2 separate regions of the Homo sapiens genome follow, and region 1 is linked to region 2. The links are contacts of gene promoters, found by promoter capture Hi-C in human tissues and cell types (Jung and others, 2019). All regions are on one chromosome and are shown on one strand. Each heading gives the region's core, a stretch centred on a gene start or on the middle of the fragment in contact. The rest is flanking DNA. Distances are from core to core; before and after follow the strand shown. Region 1 overlaps RHEB (Ras homolog, mTORC1 binding). Region 2 holds the start of CRYGN (crystallin gamma N).

Evidence for each region. The method cuts DNA at HindIII sites, captures the fragments that hold promoters and counts their contacts. A contact is called where the count stands out against the background at its distance.
Region 1: a fragment that was not itself captured here is called in contact with the fragment with the promoter of CRYGN in region 2 in 1 of the 25 tissues and cell types used here (dorsolateral prefrontal cortex).

What each region holds. Positions count from the first base shown.
Region 1 is chr7:151,483,023-151,490,202 of GRCh38, reverse strand. It overlaps RHEB (Ras homolog, mTORC1 binding), which reads left to right. Exons shown (of 8, transcript NM_005614.4): 3 at 5,399-5,466. Among named protein-coding and RNA genes, the nearest start is that of RHEB, 33 kb to the left of the region's middle. The HindIII fragment of the contact is 4,655 bases long and covers 1,462-6,116 here.
Region 2 is chr7:151,438,648-151,446,394 of GRCh38, reverse strand. CRYGN (crystallin gamma N) reads left to right here and starts at 6,254. Exons shown (of 4, transcript NM_144727.3): 1 at 6,254-6,498. The coding sequence starts at 6,478. RefSeq lists enhancers at 5,226-5,762, 6,474-6,974, 6,975-7,475. The HindIII fragment of the contact is 10,973 bases long and covers 138-7,747 here.

The sequences.
Region 1 (7,180 bases), core at 2,540-5,039, 46 kb before region 2:
GCCTCCCAGGTGGCTGGAACTACAGGCATACAACACTGTGCCCAGCTTTGAGACAGATCTTGATTCTAGGGATCGCCAAGGATAATCTGAAGCAGGGAAGCTGGTCTTTTCAGGCTTAGAACCCCAGGTGGGCCCTGGAACTAGGTTTCTCAGATTCTTGAGACCAGGACTTATCTAGGATTTGTCACCAGGAACATGTAGATTTAAACATGGGATTCATCAACACCTGATTGGCATATTAGACACGAAGCATATTTCACCGGCCGGAGGCTTGCAAGAGAATCACTTGAATGCTTTGGCTGACAGTAAAGAGCTTGGCAAACGACAGCCTGCAGGCCAGCAAGGCCCATTTCCTGTCTTTATACAGACCAAGAGCTAAGAAAGGTTTTTCCATTTAAGCATAATATATAAAAGTCCAAAGAAGAATAATGTCTGGCATGTGAAAATTATATGAAATTCAAATGTTAACCTCTATAAAGTTTTATTGATACACAGCCATGCTTGTTCCTTTACATGTTGTCCTTTACATGCTGTACAATGGCAGAGTTGTTGAATAGTAAGAGCAGAGACCAGGTGGCCTACAAAGCCTAAAATATTTACTGGTACTGTCTGGCCCTTTACAGAAAAAGTTTGCTCACCCCTCGCTTAAAATATTTGGCTGTCCTTTGTGTTCCAGTGTGCTGGTAGCAGAGAAGGAAACCTGTTGGTTGATAAACTAACTCCAGGAATATTTTTGAAAGTAACCTTTCAAGATGTTATATTTGAAAGTAACCTCTGGGTATCTACAGGGAGGAGTCCTGATTACATCCTATGATTTGTCTAGCTGGTCATTATATAATAGTAAGCAAGTGTGAGGAGCAGATTAATGTGAGTGCTGGATGAACAAGCTCGGTTTTCTGTCCACTGGAATAAGAACATAAGAAAATCATCATCTTGGACCTTAATATTTGCTATACAAAGCAATTTAGGATTTTAGATCCTTGAAATAATAAGGTTCATTTTGGAATTGTATTAACAGAACAATAGAAGATTGTTTTCTTCGTAAGCTCTGCCTCTAAAAGTGGATATTGTGGCTGTATCCTCATGCCATTTCATACTGAGCTGGAATTAGCTGGGCGTGATGGTGTGTGCCTGTAGTCTCAGCTGAGACAGGCGGATCACTTGAACCCAGGAGTTTGAGGCTGCAGTGATCTGTAATCATGTCACTGTACTCCAGCCTGGGCAGCAGAGCAAGATGTGGTCTCAAAAGTAAAAACTGAGTTGGAAGGAAAGTCATGGAGTTGTGTATCATGGAGCTATATATACATACATTTTCTTAGTAAGTAATGGATCAGAAGAAAGTCCAACTTATGTAACTTGATGTTATCTCAGAAACAGAGTAATATGACCCTACTTTTTTGAGGCTATCAACATCATCTTTGGTCATATTTTAAATTTTTTCTCATCTTACAGTTCAATAATGAAGACTTCTTTACCTCAAAAATGAATTCAGAGTACTTGTTTATTAAAGTCTGTAGGCAGGAGCAGAAATAAATATGAATATGTATCCATTAAAAGTTCGTGAGGCATGTTCAGACATTATATTCTACTTACCACACTTCTGATAACCTAACACAGGGCAGGAGCCCTTCGCCCACCCTTTCCTCCACTGTTTGGTAGAAAAACATTGTTCAGTGATAACAATGAATTAGAAAGAAAAGAAAAGGTTATCATGAACTTGTTGCTAGCAAGATAAATAAGTGGGTGGTTTCATGATTTTAAAAAACTGCTCTGTAGATCTGGAAATAATTTAGTAGTTATTTTACACTTTATAATATTAGAACAAGCTGTTATAGCAAACACTCAGTGGTGACACATTTCAGTGAAGTGTCATGGTGAGCAAAAATTCTGGGACTGTGTCATCTTTAACAGTAGGGGTGTAGGAGAATAATATTAATAAAACCACATATTTTCTAGTTTGGGGAAATTTTAAAGCAGAAGTACTACTTATGCAAGTGTACTTCATTATCTACTGTAGTGTTAATCTAACAACTCAATACAAACTAAATTGATAGGCTGAAATTAAGCTAGTGGTAGTTTATAACTAAAAAGCAAGCATAGCAGCAATTTCCGACTTCTGCCATCTCAAGGTAGCACTGTTAGTGAATGACAAAGCGCCTTCCAGAAAGTTGGGAGGTTGCACTTAGGTGTTGCAGCATTCTCAAGGCACTGCGTCCTGGGTGTGGACTTCTCAGTAGGGTATGAATGAAGAGCCCTCACCACACTTTAGTAACACAAATCTTGCTTTGTGAACACCAAATTTTGGAAACCTCTATGACCGTGGTTAGTAGCATTTACTAGTAAATAGCTATTAGTCTACTTAGGAGAATTTCAGGGGTTTAGGTTGGAAATGGATTCTCTGGTGATTCAAAGAGGCAGGGAGAAAGGGGCTCAAGGAGAGTGATGTCAGAAGAAAGCCAGCTTTCCACTTTGACATGAGGTTAAAATGAGAGACAGTAGAATTATTTCCGAGTCTATCCTATCTCTTATTATACCTCCCTTTTTTCTATAGTAAAAAACTGGCAGTTTTCCTATGACAGCAAGATGGAAGGTCTTTTTCATTTTACTGCTACAAGTAGGACAAGTTACATTCTTTTTACATGCAAAGATAGATGCAAATGTTTATTTTTTTTTTTTTCTTTTATACACTATGTACAATGACATCTCAGTCTTCTTGGCCGAATCTTCTGCATTTTTTTGACTTGGCAACATGGGGTGCCCTGGTTCAGGCCTTTCCTCTGCACTTGCTCTCAAGTAATCTTCCCCTCTCTTCAATTTGCTATTGACTCACCAGTGTGTATTCTCAGCCGCAACCTCTCCCCCCAGCTCTGGGCTTTATTTTATAATTTATTTTATTCTACATGACAAGGTCTTTCACTCTGTCCTTCAGGCAGGAGTGCAGTGGCATGATCATAGCTCACTGTAACCTTGAATACCTGGGCTTAAAATGATCTTTCCTCAGCCTCACAAGTAGCTAGGACTACAGGCGTGAGCCACCACGCTGGAGCAGTTTTTCCATTTTTGTGGAGATTGGGTCTCCCTGTGTTGCCCAGGGTGGTCTTGAACTCCAGGCCTCAAGCAGTCCTCCTGCCTGGGCCTCCCAAAGTGGGATTACAGGCATAAGCCACTACATCCTGGGCTTTTTTATTTAACTGCCTGCATTTCCCCTTGGTATTTAATAGGCATCCCAAAACATCCCTAAAACCCAACTCATTTCCCTTCCTCTCCTATCCCTAGTATTCTTCCCCTAGTCTTTCCTGTAAGTGGCAACTTACAGAAGCTTTGGAGTCATCCTGACTCTTCATTTTCTTACATCCCACTTCCAGTCAATCAGAAAATCCTTTTGGTTCTGCCTCTGAAATATTTCCAGAATATCTCCACCTCTAATCCAGGCCAGTGTCACCCTCTATAGATTGTGATAGTCTGTACAGTCATGTGGTCACTGTATCATGGGCTCCTGCCTAATATCCCTGGGACCATTTTTGTTACTTACAGCGTAGCCAGAGTGATCTTTCCTTGGTTTCTCCTCACATTCAGAGTAAAAATCCCAAGTTCTGTAGGACCTTCTGCCTCCTGTCCATCCTAGTTAGCTATCTACCGTTCTCTCTGAGCTTTAGCTGCATTGACTTTTTTGCTTTTTTCACTTGCTGTTTAACCTCTGCCTGGGTGTTCCACTCCCAGGGAAGATACCCGACAGGGTGGGAGGGTACATGTGTGTGTCTATACCTTCTTTCCTTCCCTGGGATCTAAGCTCACTGAGTATCAGAGACTACAGCATCCCAAGCACCCACAACAGTGCTACTGGTGATAATAGGCACTCAAGAAATTGTTCTTGAATGAATGAATGAATGAATGATGTTTCCTTTCAGTAACCTTGTCATCATAATTATACTTGATAACTGCAGTTACTTAGTTCTAATTGAAGGTCACTGGTTTTATTGCTCACCAGTGTTTCTTACATACTTCTCATCAAATCTGAAATACACTTCAATCTCACGTGACTGAAGGTTTTCACACAGCTATGTAGTGACTGCACCCTGGCTGACAAGGACTGAAACCTCCAGCGGTGCAGGATGCATCCCAAGTTCAGAGAGAATAAGGTGTAAAAACAAATCTGAATTCTTTCTTAGAATTGATGAAATAGGTTATATTGGGTATCCCCCCAGCTTGAAATATTCCGATTCAGTTTCCATCTGATTTAACTGTTTCCTAAAAGTGATAACTTCCGGAACAGGTACAAGCATAATATAGTGTGGCCATTGATTTCATGCTGTGGTCTGTTATCTTTACTCACCTGACTTTTGGCCCCCCTGCTTGTATTAGAAAAGTGTGACGCTAATATGGTTCTCTGTGATGATTGCTTGTCTTTCAGCCATCATTTCTTTCCCTGTGGAACTCATATAACTCAGATAAGATCTCTGATCAATCCTCCTTATTACTTAGAGTTTTCTCACATAATTTCCATTTGTCTGTGTCAGCTTTGCCTTTCTGCTGTGGGTAGAGTGGGACCTCTCTCAGTTGTATGAGGGATAGATTCTGCTGCCTGGCTCTAGTCATATAGGACGGCCAATCAGGAGATTGGAGGACTCATGGTGAGTCAAGATGGCTGGGGCGGGTATGCAAGATAAATCTGTTCCACTTCCTTGTCAGAGTTCCAGGTGGTTATTTTTACATTGTTTCTGTTAGTAGTTCTTTCCTCTTTTGTCTATATTTGTTTGAAGTCTGTCTCCCTCTAATTCTGAATTGACTTTTCCGGAAGTTATTCAAGTCTGATTTTCTTTCCTCCCTTGTCAGGGAAAAGAAGTTGTGACAAATTGCTTGGATCCTTAAGCTTAAGTGGGAAGGATGGCTTCAACACAGAACATCTGTTTCATTGCTGTTTTATCCGTCAGTAAAACTGTTACTTCTTTTATGTACTAAAAGTTCTTAGCACTTAACTAATATTAGCTCTTTGTGCTCTGATGCCAGACTTCCTATAAATTAATGGAAAATTTTTGTGGTTTTGGTTTATTCTAGACCTCAGACTTTACGTAGTATATTTCACTTTTTCACAAGAGGAAGGATTTGCCACACAGCATTCAAATTACTATTATAGGATATGAATTGTTGCGTACTTTGTCTCTTTGAAAAAGAATCAAGGTTTACCAAGCTTGATTTTAGCCAGTCACCGTATTTCCTAGCTAAATAATGGAAGTAGGGGAGAATCTATACAAGTCAGAGAGTTGTTCTTTTTTGTTTCATGGGGCCTTTCTCTGAGACTGCTAGGGACTCTGTGCTTGATTGGTTGTCATTGTTCAAACTTCAGGTGGTTTCGAGTTAATTTTTTTAAACTAATGTTTAATTTCCTTTTTCCCTGTAGCTTTTACAAAGTTGATCACAGTAAATGGACAAGAATATCATCTTCAACTTGTAGACACAGCCGGGCAAGTAAGTGACCTCTGGTATCTCAGAATCTTATACAGCATATCTGACAGTCTTGGTCCTAGCACTGATTTTTAAAAGTACCAGCTATGCCAAGAAAACCCCTCAGGTTGTGTGCAGACAGTCCCTGACTCCCAATGGTTTGGCTTGCAGTGGCTCGACTTAACAATTTCTCATCTTTACGATGGGTCTATTGAGGTATTTGATACATTTTCAACTCATGATATTTTTGGTTTACAGTAGGTTTATCACGATGTAACCCCATCATAAGTCAAGGAGCTTACACAGATAACTAAATGTTAGTATGCTGTCTACTTGGTCTTTTCTAAGACATTTCTGGCAGTTATCTTTTAATAACTTGTTTTTCTGCTTTAGAATTGCTTTAAATATATTAACATTGTAAGGGTTAATACTTATTACAGGATAGTGGTTTTCTATTTTCTAAACTTTAATTCTATATTAGAGAGTCATATTAGTTGCTTTCTTTCTCTTTGTGATATGTGTTCTCCTACATTAGGGCAAAAGTACATCTTTTCTAGAGGAAAGGCATAAGAGGGGCATAGGGCAGAAATTAGCTGATTTAATCTTATGAGGACCTGGGCCATAAAATACCAGTTTGACTGGAGTCCAGGCTCTGGTTTGAGTGTTGGCTTTAGTTTATATAGTAGAGTCTCTGGGTGGGTGGATTTGAGAGTGATTACTAGATTAGGGAGTTTCAATTTATTTGATAGACAGTAGATAATGGCCAAAAGTCAAATAATCCCCCCAGAAAGGATATTCACATGTCGGTTAATGTAGCAGGGATGTGTGGAATGGATCACCAGGGAATTGGCTGGAAGCAAGGGGGAAAGGAGTACATGAAACAAAGAAAAGCCCTTTTGACAGCTTAGCTGCCCCATTACCATGACATCCAGGCCTGCTTTTACTAGAAACTATTCTGTAAGACTGAATTTACCCTTCTTCACTGGAGGGTGAGGAATGTAAAGAAGCTGGGATTTCAGCTCCTAACTCCTGCCCTTGCAACATTTTTTTGAGACAGAGTCTTGCTCTGTCACCCAGGCTGGAAGGCAGTGGTGCTATCCCACTACAACCTGTGCCTCCTGAGTTAAAGCAATTCTCCTGGCACAGCCTCCCAAGTAGCCGGGATTACAGGCACACCACCACACCCGGCTAATTTTGTATTTTTAGTAGAGGCGGGGTTTCGCCATATTGGCCTGGCTGGTCTTGAACTCCTGACCTCAGGTGATTCACCTGCCTCGGCCTCTGAAAGTGCTAGGATGACAGGCATGAGCCACCATGCCTGGCCCGCCCTTGCAACTTATAATCAAAGGATAAGAGTAGCAGGAGGGTGAGTGTAGTGTGATCTGGTTTGCTGTGTTAAATGGGGGCTATTTTTCTGGAATCTGGGGAAATTGGAGTAGACCCAGAATAATATGACCTGTCCTGTGGGTTTGGAATGAATTCCCTCTGCTTTGCATTTTGAAGTAAACATAGAAGGAAAGTGTGATGCCTTAGTGAAGCAAGAAGATAGCTGTATTGAGTGATGTTAGCATTGGAGGAACCCTGAGGTTTCCATTTTGGAAGCTTGGAAGAAAATAAATGTGTTTGGCTCTTTGAGCTTGTACACAGAGCTATAGCATGTGCCTCCTTCACTCACCCTACACACTCCCTGCTGGTGGTGATGCAGTGTGCTTTAGCAGTCAGATTCTTGATGCTTTCA
Region 2 (7,747 bases), core at 5,005-7,504:
ACACAACAAGGAATAGACAACAGCAAAGGAACAGATAGCGGACTCACACACACACACACAGCAAAAGAATAGATAGCAAGTTAAAACACACACAGCCAGGCATGGTGCCTCATGCCTGTAATCCCAGCACTTTAGGAGGCCAAGGCAGGAGGATCCCTTGAGGCCAGGAACTCGGGACCAGCATGGGCAACATAGTGAGACCCCGTCTCTACAAAAAATTTTAAAAACCTAGCTGGGTGTGGGCGTGTGCCTTTAGTCCCAGCTACAAGGGAGGCTGAAGCAGGAGGATGCCTTAGCCCAGTTGTTTGGGGCTGCATTGAGCTATGATCGTGGCACTGCACTCTGGCCTGGGTGACAGAGTGAAACTCTGTCTCTAAAACAAAGAAACACTTGCACACACACAGGCACACACACATAATCAATAAGGAAAGACAGAAAAAAATGAGCAAAGCATATGAACAAGCAATTTACAAAAGATCCAATTCAAATGAACGCTATACATTTGAACTGATGTTGAGCAACTGGCCTTGGAACTACCAAGGGTAGATCTCATCTGTATGTCAGTGGGGCAATTTGGAAGACCTCTGTGGCATCTAGTGGCTTGAAGGTGAACTCATGCTTCAACCCAGCAATTTCACCCAGAGGCATGGGCCTCAAAGGAGGCAGTATTGGTCCCAGGGTGTGGTTGGAATTTTGTAGGGTGTTTCTGTTTGTCAGAATGCTGGAGGATGGGTGGGCAGGCCCCAGGATGCTGGATATCCCACCACATCCAAGGAGACACTGTCCCACAATTTCCCCTAGAAACGCATAGTATTTTTTGTGTGGCTTTAATATATACTGAAGATTTCCTGGTATGCAATTTATTAGATATATAAATGGAAGATTTTACTTAGTTTTCTGAGGAATTCTACTGAGCTTTGTTCATTCACCATTTCAGAAACTCTTGTCACTAAAACAAAAAACCAAATTGCAGAAGGCTACATATAATGTAGCCACACTAAAAATTTTCTATTATTTACAGATACATACAAAGAAAGTAAAAAGATGAAAACACACAAAGACATAACACAAAAATCAGGACAGTATCTTATCCTTATGGGGAAGGAAGCCTTCAATTCTATGTATAATGATTTCTTATTTTAAGGAAAAACATTGATCCGACATAAACCTGGCAAAATGCTAAGATTTGACAAACTTTGTATGGTGGTGTTATTGTTCCTTATATTATTTCCTATTCTTCTCTGTGCTCTAAATTACCCAAAAACGGGAGAGACAAGAGGCAGAGAAGGGAGGCAGGCAAACGGGTGATGGCTCAGGGTGATTTATTATTAAAACCATTAGCCTCCACGCTGTAAAACTCTCCAATGCTGAGCAGCTACTGGTAGTTCTAAGGCTACATGTTATTGAGATTTTATTTTTTAAGCCATGATAGCATTCTTAGCCTTGCTTCTTCTGTGCTGTCACGATATTTATTCTCAGTCCATTTCCTTAGAATTTTGTCCCCAACTAGCAGCTGTATAGTGACTCAAGATCTCACCTACCTCAAGGTACATTTTAACAGTGCTCTACCAAAGATGACTCAAAAAAATGACTCTGATGTTGAGGTTTGGTGATACTGGCATTTGCATATTATGTAGCTATTTTGGGGAGGGGTTCTACCTGGCCACAAATAGATAATATGAATCTTAGCAGACTCCTCCTCTGGTAACTGAATTATAATAAAATCCCAGGTGGGAATTGAGATATTGCATTAGAAATAGGGAATGGAGGTGAAATTTGCAGGTATCTTATTCATCTACCCATTTTTAATAATTCTTTGCGTGGGGCTTTCAGCTAGGCATTTTTTCATATATATTTCTCAGAAAACACCCCAAATCACTGCTTCTGTTTTGGATTCTGTTGTCATCACCTTTTTGGGTTGTCTGTGTGCTCTGGCCCTGCTGTGATGAGGGCAAATACAAATTAAAAAGAAGAAGTTCAGCTGGGCACAGTGGCTCACACCTGTAATCCCAGCACTTTGGGAGGCCAAGGCAGGCGGATCACTTGAGGTCAGGCATTCAAGACCAGCCTGGCCAACGTGGTGAAGCCCCATCTCTACTAAAAATACAAAAATTGGCCAGGCGCGGTGGCTCACGCCTGTAATCCTAGCACTTTGGGAGGCCAAGGCAGGCGGATTGCCTGAGCTCAGGAGTTTGATATCAGCCTGGGCAACATGGTGAAACCCCATCTCTACTAAAATACAAAAAACTAGCCAGGCTTGGCGGCGTGTGCCTGTAGTCCCAGCTACTCGGGAGGCTGAAGCAGGAGAATCGCTTGAACCCAGGAGGTGGATGTTGCAGTGAGTTGAGATCACGCCACTGCACTCCAGCCTGGGCAACAGAACAAGACTCCATCTCCAAAAAAAAAAAAAAAAAAAAAAAAAAATTAGCTGGGCGTGGTGGCACACACCTGTAGTCCCAGCTACTGGGGAGGCTGAGGCAGGAGAATTGCTTGAACCTAGGAGGCAGAGATTGCAGTGAGCTGAGATCGCATCACTGCACTCCTGCCTGGGGGACAGAGCAAGACTCCATCTCAAAAAAAAAAAAAAAAAAAAGCTCTTAAAACAACAATGAGACACCACTGCACACTTATTTGAATGGCTAAAATCCAAAACTTGATAGCACCAAATGGTCAGAATGAAAAATCATATAGCCACTTTGAAAGAGAGTTTGACAGTTTCTTTTTATTTGATTTGATTTTGAATTTTTTAGAGACAGGGTCTTGCTATGTTGTCCAAGCTGGTCTTGAACTCCCGGCCTCAAGTAATCCTCCTGCCTTAGCCTCCTGAGTAGCTGGGATTACAGGTACAAGCCTCTGCACCTGGCTTTTATTTTTTTTTCAGTTTGTTGCACAACTAAACATACCTGTAACATATGATCCAGCAATCCCACTCCTTAGTGTATAGTGAAAGGAGCACACAAAAATCTACACGTGGTTGTTTATAGAAGCTTTCCTCATAATTGCCAAAACTTGGACACAACCAAAATGTCCTTCCATTGATGAATAGATAACTAAACTGTGGTACTTCCAGACAAGGGAACATGATTCAGCAGTAAAAAGAAATGAGAGACTAGGCCAGGAAAAGATATGAGGGAATCTTAAATGCATATTACTAAGTGGAAGAAACCAATCTGAGAAAGCTACTTGCTGTCTTAGTCCGTTTTGTGCCGCTATAACAGAATACCACAGACTGGGTAATTTACAATGAACACAAATGTACTGGCTCACAGTTCTGGAGGCTGAGAAGTCTAACATCACGGTGCTGGCATCTTTCAAGGGCCTTCTTGCTGTATCATCCCATGGGAGAAGGGCAAAGAGAGGGTGAGAGAGAGCAAGCGGTTGACCTTGTAGCCCTTTATGGTCAGCGTTAATCCATGAATGAGGGTGAAGCCCTCATGACCTAAACCCTTCCCATGAGACCGCATCTTTCAACATTGTTGCATTGGGGATTAAGTTTCCAACACATGTGTTTTGGGGGACACGTTCAAACCGTAGTAGCTACATACTGTAAGATTCCAAATACATGACATCCTGAAAAAGGCAAAACCGTGAAGATAGTAAAAAGATCAGTGGTTGCCAGGAGTTAAGGGGGAGAGAGGGATAAACAGATGGAGCCCAGGGGACTTTTTTTTTTATCTTTTTTTTTTTTTTTTTGAGACGGAGTTTAACTCTGTCGTCCAGGCTGGAGTGCAGTGGCGCAATCTTGGCTCACTACAACCTCCACCTTCCAGGTTCAAGCAATTCTCACTGCCTCAGCCTCCTGAGTAGCTAGGATTACAGGCGCCTGCCACCACGCCTGGCTAGTTTTTGTATTTTTAGTAGAGACAGGGTTTCGCCCTGTTGGCCAGGCTGGTCTCAAACTCCTGACCTTAGGTGATCCACCCGCCCCGGCCTCCCAAAGTGCTGGGATTACAGGTGTGAGCCGCCGTGCCCAGCCCACACAGGGGACTTTTAAGGTGGTGAGAATACTCTACCTGGTGCTCTAATGGTGGAACCATGGCATTACACTGTAGAGGCAGCAAAGTTCTACCTCCATCCTCTTAGGGTCCTGGCTGGGCCTGAGAAATAAATTGACCTAAGACAGATTAACAAGAGAAAAGCATACAAACTTATTTAATACAAGTTTTATGTGGCATGGGAGCCCTTATAAGGAGATGAAGACCCAAAGAAAAAGTTAAGAGTCAAACACTTACATACTCAACTGGACAAAGAGTAGCAAGCTGTGAAAAATCAACCACATTATGTGGGGAGGCTTTAAAAATGTGTTATTTTAACAAAGTCTACGCCGCATTCTCTCAACTTCTCATCCTGTATCCCGATGTATAACATAGGTTCATCGGCTGTGACAAATGTACCACTCTAATGGGGGCGCTGATTGTGGAGGAGGCTCTGTGTGTGTGTGTGTGTGTGTGTGTGTGTGTGTGTGTGTGTGTGTAGGGGCAGGGGGTATACAGGAAATTGCTGTACCTTTTGCTGAATTCAACTTGAACCTAAAGCTGCTCTAAAAAATAAAACCTTTTTTTAAGGCTTATTTTTCCCTGTTGAAAATAAGGGAAGAGGCTTCCCTTTCCTCCCTTTTCTTGCAGAATTTCCTTCTCTGTCATTTTCAAATGTGTGTAAATCTTTTTAATGGCTAAACAAGCCTCTTGCCAGTCTAACAACTCAGTCATGTTTCCTCTGGGAGCCTCTTTGAGTCTTGACATCAAGGAGTAAGTGCCCCCACCCTCCCCGTTTCCTAAGAAGCCTGACTTCAGCTGTCACCTGACTCCAAATTGCAAAACCCACCTCCAGTCATAGAGATACAAGAAAATCAGCAATTTTATCCTGAAAACATGAATGCAGTGGGTTGTGTCTGCTTGGCTACAGAAGAGTGAGATCTCTCTCCATCTTTGCGATCTCTTAGGGGAGAGATCGTGATGCAGATCGCATTCCAGTTTAAAGTTTATTCAATAATAAAATTGTTTTTTTTTCCTTCTACCTTCGTGGAGAAGTTTTCTGGGTTGGCTGGAGATTTTGTTTTTAATTTTATGTCCCCACCAGGGCCCAGGTCCAGAGAGAAACATTGGAATGTGTGGCTTGGCAAGTAAGGGCGCCAGTGGAGGCAGCTGGGCGGCGTCCCTAGGGAGGGGCGTCCCTAGGGAGGACCGTCCCTGGGTTCAAGGGTGACATGCAGGTTCTGGTTTGTACCCTGTCTACTTTTGAAAACCTCCCACAGCAGAGGCAAGGTCACCCCTCTGCCCCAAGAATCACATAACCTCCTCTTCCTGGGCCTCAGTGTCTCATCTGTGAAATGGTCATAAAAATATACTGTTTGAAGGAAGAGCAGCCCAAACTCCTCCCCAAAGCTCCTCCCTCCCCTCCAGCAGAAGCCCCTGTGGAGCACCTGCCCCTCTCTCCTTTGATCTCAGAGCCTGTCCCCCACCACCCCAGCCATCTGAGTCATGAGTCCTGTGTTCCCAGCTCATCTCCCCAGCCGTGTGGGGGCTGCACATCCTGTGGGCTCCATGTTCGCTCTGCTCACTCCACAATCTCTGAGCCTCTGCTGTCTGCCAAGTGCTCGTTCTGGGCCCTGGGGAACTCTCCCTCCGCGGTGGGGCTGCTTTGTGCTGTAAACTGATCCTGGGCGTCCAGGGTGGCTTAGTTGGTGCAGCAGAGAGGCAAGGGGCAGAGCACTGTACCCCCAGCTCAGGGCAGCGCGGGTCACCTGGTCACCCTAGGCAGGATCTTCAAGGAGAGAGGGACCCAGGGAGGGAGAGTGCCAGGGAGGGAGGCAGGCAGGAAGAGAGCGGGAGGAGGGAGGCCTGACCTGGCCTGGCGTTTTGTGGGGTGTGGGGGGGTGCATCAGGAGCTGGGTGAGTTGGAGCCGGAGGTCTAAGGTGGGGACCTGGGAGCTCAGACCAGAGCAGCCAGGGGAGGGGCGGTCAAGGGCTGTCTGTCTGTCCGGGGAAGCTTGGGTTGCATCCTCGTGGAGACAAACAAGTTGGCACCAAGGCGAGACTACCTGCAGCCAGGTGAGAAAGGGGAGTGGGCTGGGGAGCTCGGAACAGGCCTTGGGAGGGAGGGAGATGGGCGTGAGGGCTGAGGGGCAGCGCAGGGGAAGAAAGGTTGGAGGGCTAGAGAGACACCTCCCCTCCTCCCCCCACCACTCCAGGGCAGGGCAGGGGCAGCCGCGGGCTGGGCGGGAGGGCTCAGGGAGGAAGGAGGCTCGGGAGCTAAACGCGGAGAGCACAGGGAGACCCCGGGCAGGGCGGGCTGCACTCGCGGTGGCACAGGGTGGCCGCGGCGGGTCCCAACCGCCTGGTGGCCCCTCGGGCTTAGCACGCCCGACAGCACTAACGCTCCGGGGCCGGCCCAGCAAATCTTTTGTCCGGGGCGGCGCTGAGCCAGCAGGGCGCTGCCCGGTGTAAACGGGGACCCGCGGAAGGGGCGGGGCGCACCATGGCGCAGCGCTCGGGGAAGGTGAGTGCGTCCCTCAACCCCAAGGAAACCGAGTGGGGCTCCGCCTTCGCCCCCTGTGCTAGGGGATGCAGGAGGGTGCACACTGTTGATGGTGACAAATCCAAGGGAAGCTGGTTTAATTTCTTAATAAAATGGGGTGGCCTCGCTACTGGCCTGGGGCCTCTCTGGTGTGGATGGATAGGAAGGTCTCCATCTCCACTCCTTCCTTCTGGGATTCCAACCCCTCGCCCTGCAGTCAGGAGCAGGGAGGGTGTTCAGACTCCCTGGGGCTTCCTTGGGGTGGGGGAGGCTTGGCTTGTCCCACAGCCCTCCGCCCCACTGCTGCGGCTTCTTTGCCCAAGGCTGGCCTCTATGGCTTTTCCTTCCCAGGGTCTCTTCAGGGACACTTAGGGCTGGTTCTCTGAAAAATGTTGAGATTTGAGGGAGCCCCGAATCCCTTTGGTGCCCAGACCTCCCTGAAGGTTTCAGGGGCCCTCTACCAGCCGTGCCTGGTGCAGGAAGGACGGGAGACCTGGCTCTCCCTCGCCCTCTCCAGTGCCCCTAGCCTAGCCACTCCCATGAAGCCTTTGGTCTCCAAGGCCACATTCCAGAGTGTCTGGGGGTGACTGTGTTGCTGTATCAGTCTGCATGGGCCAGGTGATGCTTCAGTAACAAAGGGCCCCAGTAACTCTGGGGTGCAGAACGCCAAGGTGTCTGCCTCCTTTCCGGTGAACGCATGTGGCCACGCCTGACTCCAAGGGGCCTGGAAGGGCAATTCTCGTGTTCTTTTGAGCGAACTGGAGACACTGGTGAGGCACAAGCGACCATAGTGATGGGGAACATCACTGCACTCTGGCAGGACCCTTCTAGGGCCACAGTTCTTGAAACCCAAAGAGTTACTAAATGGTTGAGATTTTAGGTTCCACAGCAGGAAATGAGTCTGGCGGGTTGTTATTGCTTCACTTTGTTTTGTTTCGGGACAAGGACAACCTGTGAGTGCCACGTAGCTATAAGACACGATGTCTGAACTCCCAGCAGGGTGATGGAGCTCCAGATCTGATACATGCCTGCTACCCAAAGGAGTGACCTACAAAACACAGAGAGACAGGGTGGCACTTATAAGCCCTCTTTTGCGAACATTAATCCCGAGCCAGGCCCTGACGCGGCTTCGGCCCATTCAGCCTCTCCAGTGAAGGAGGCCCAATCCCAGGAACCCGAATTTCTGCAAAATATATGCTGGGTTACCATGAGAGGGTTGTGGGTGAAATTT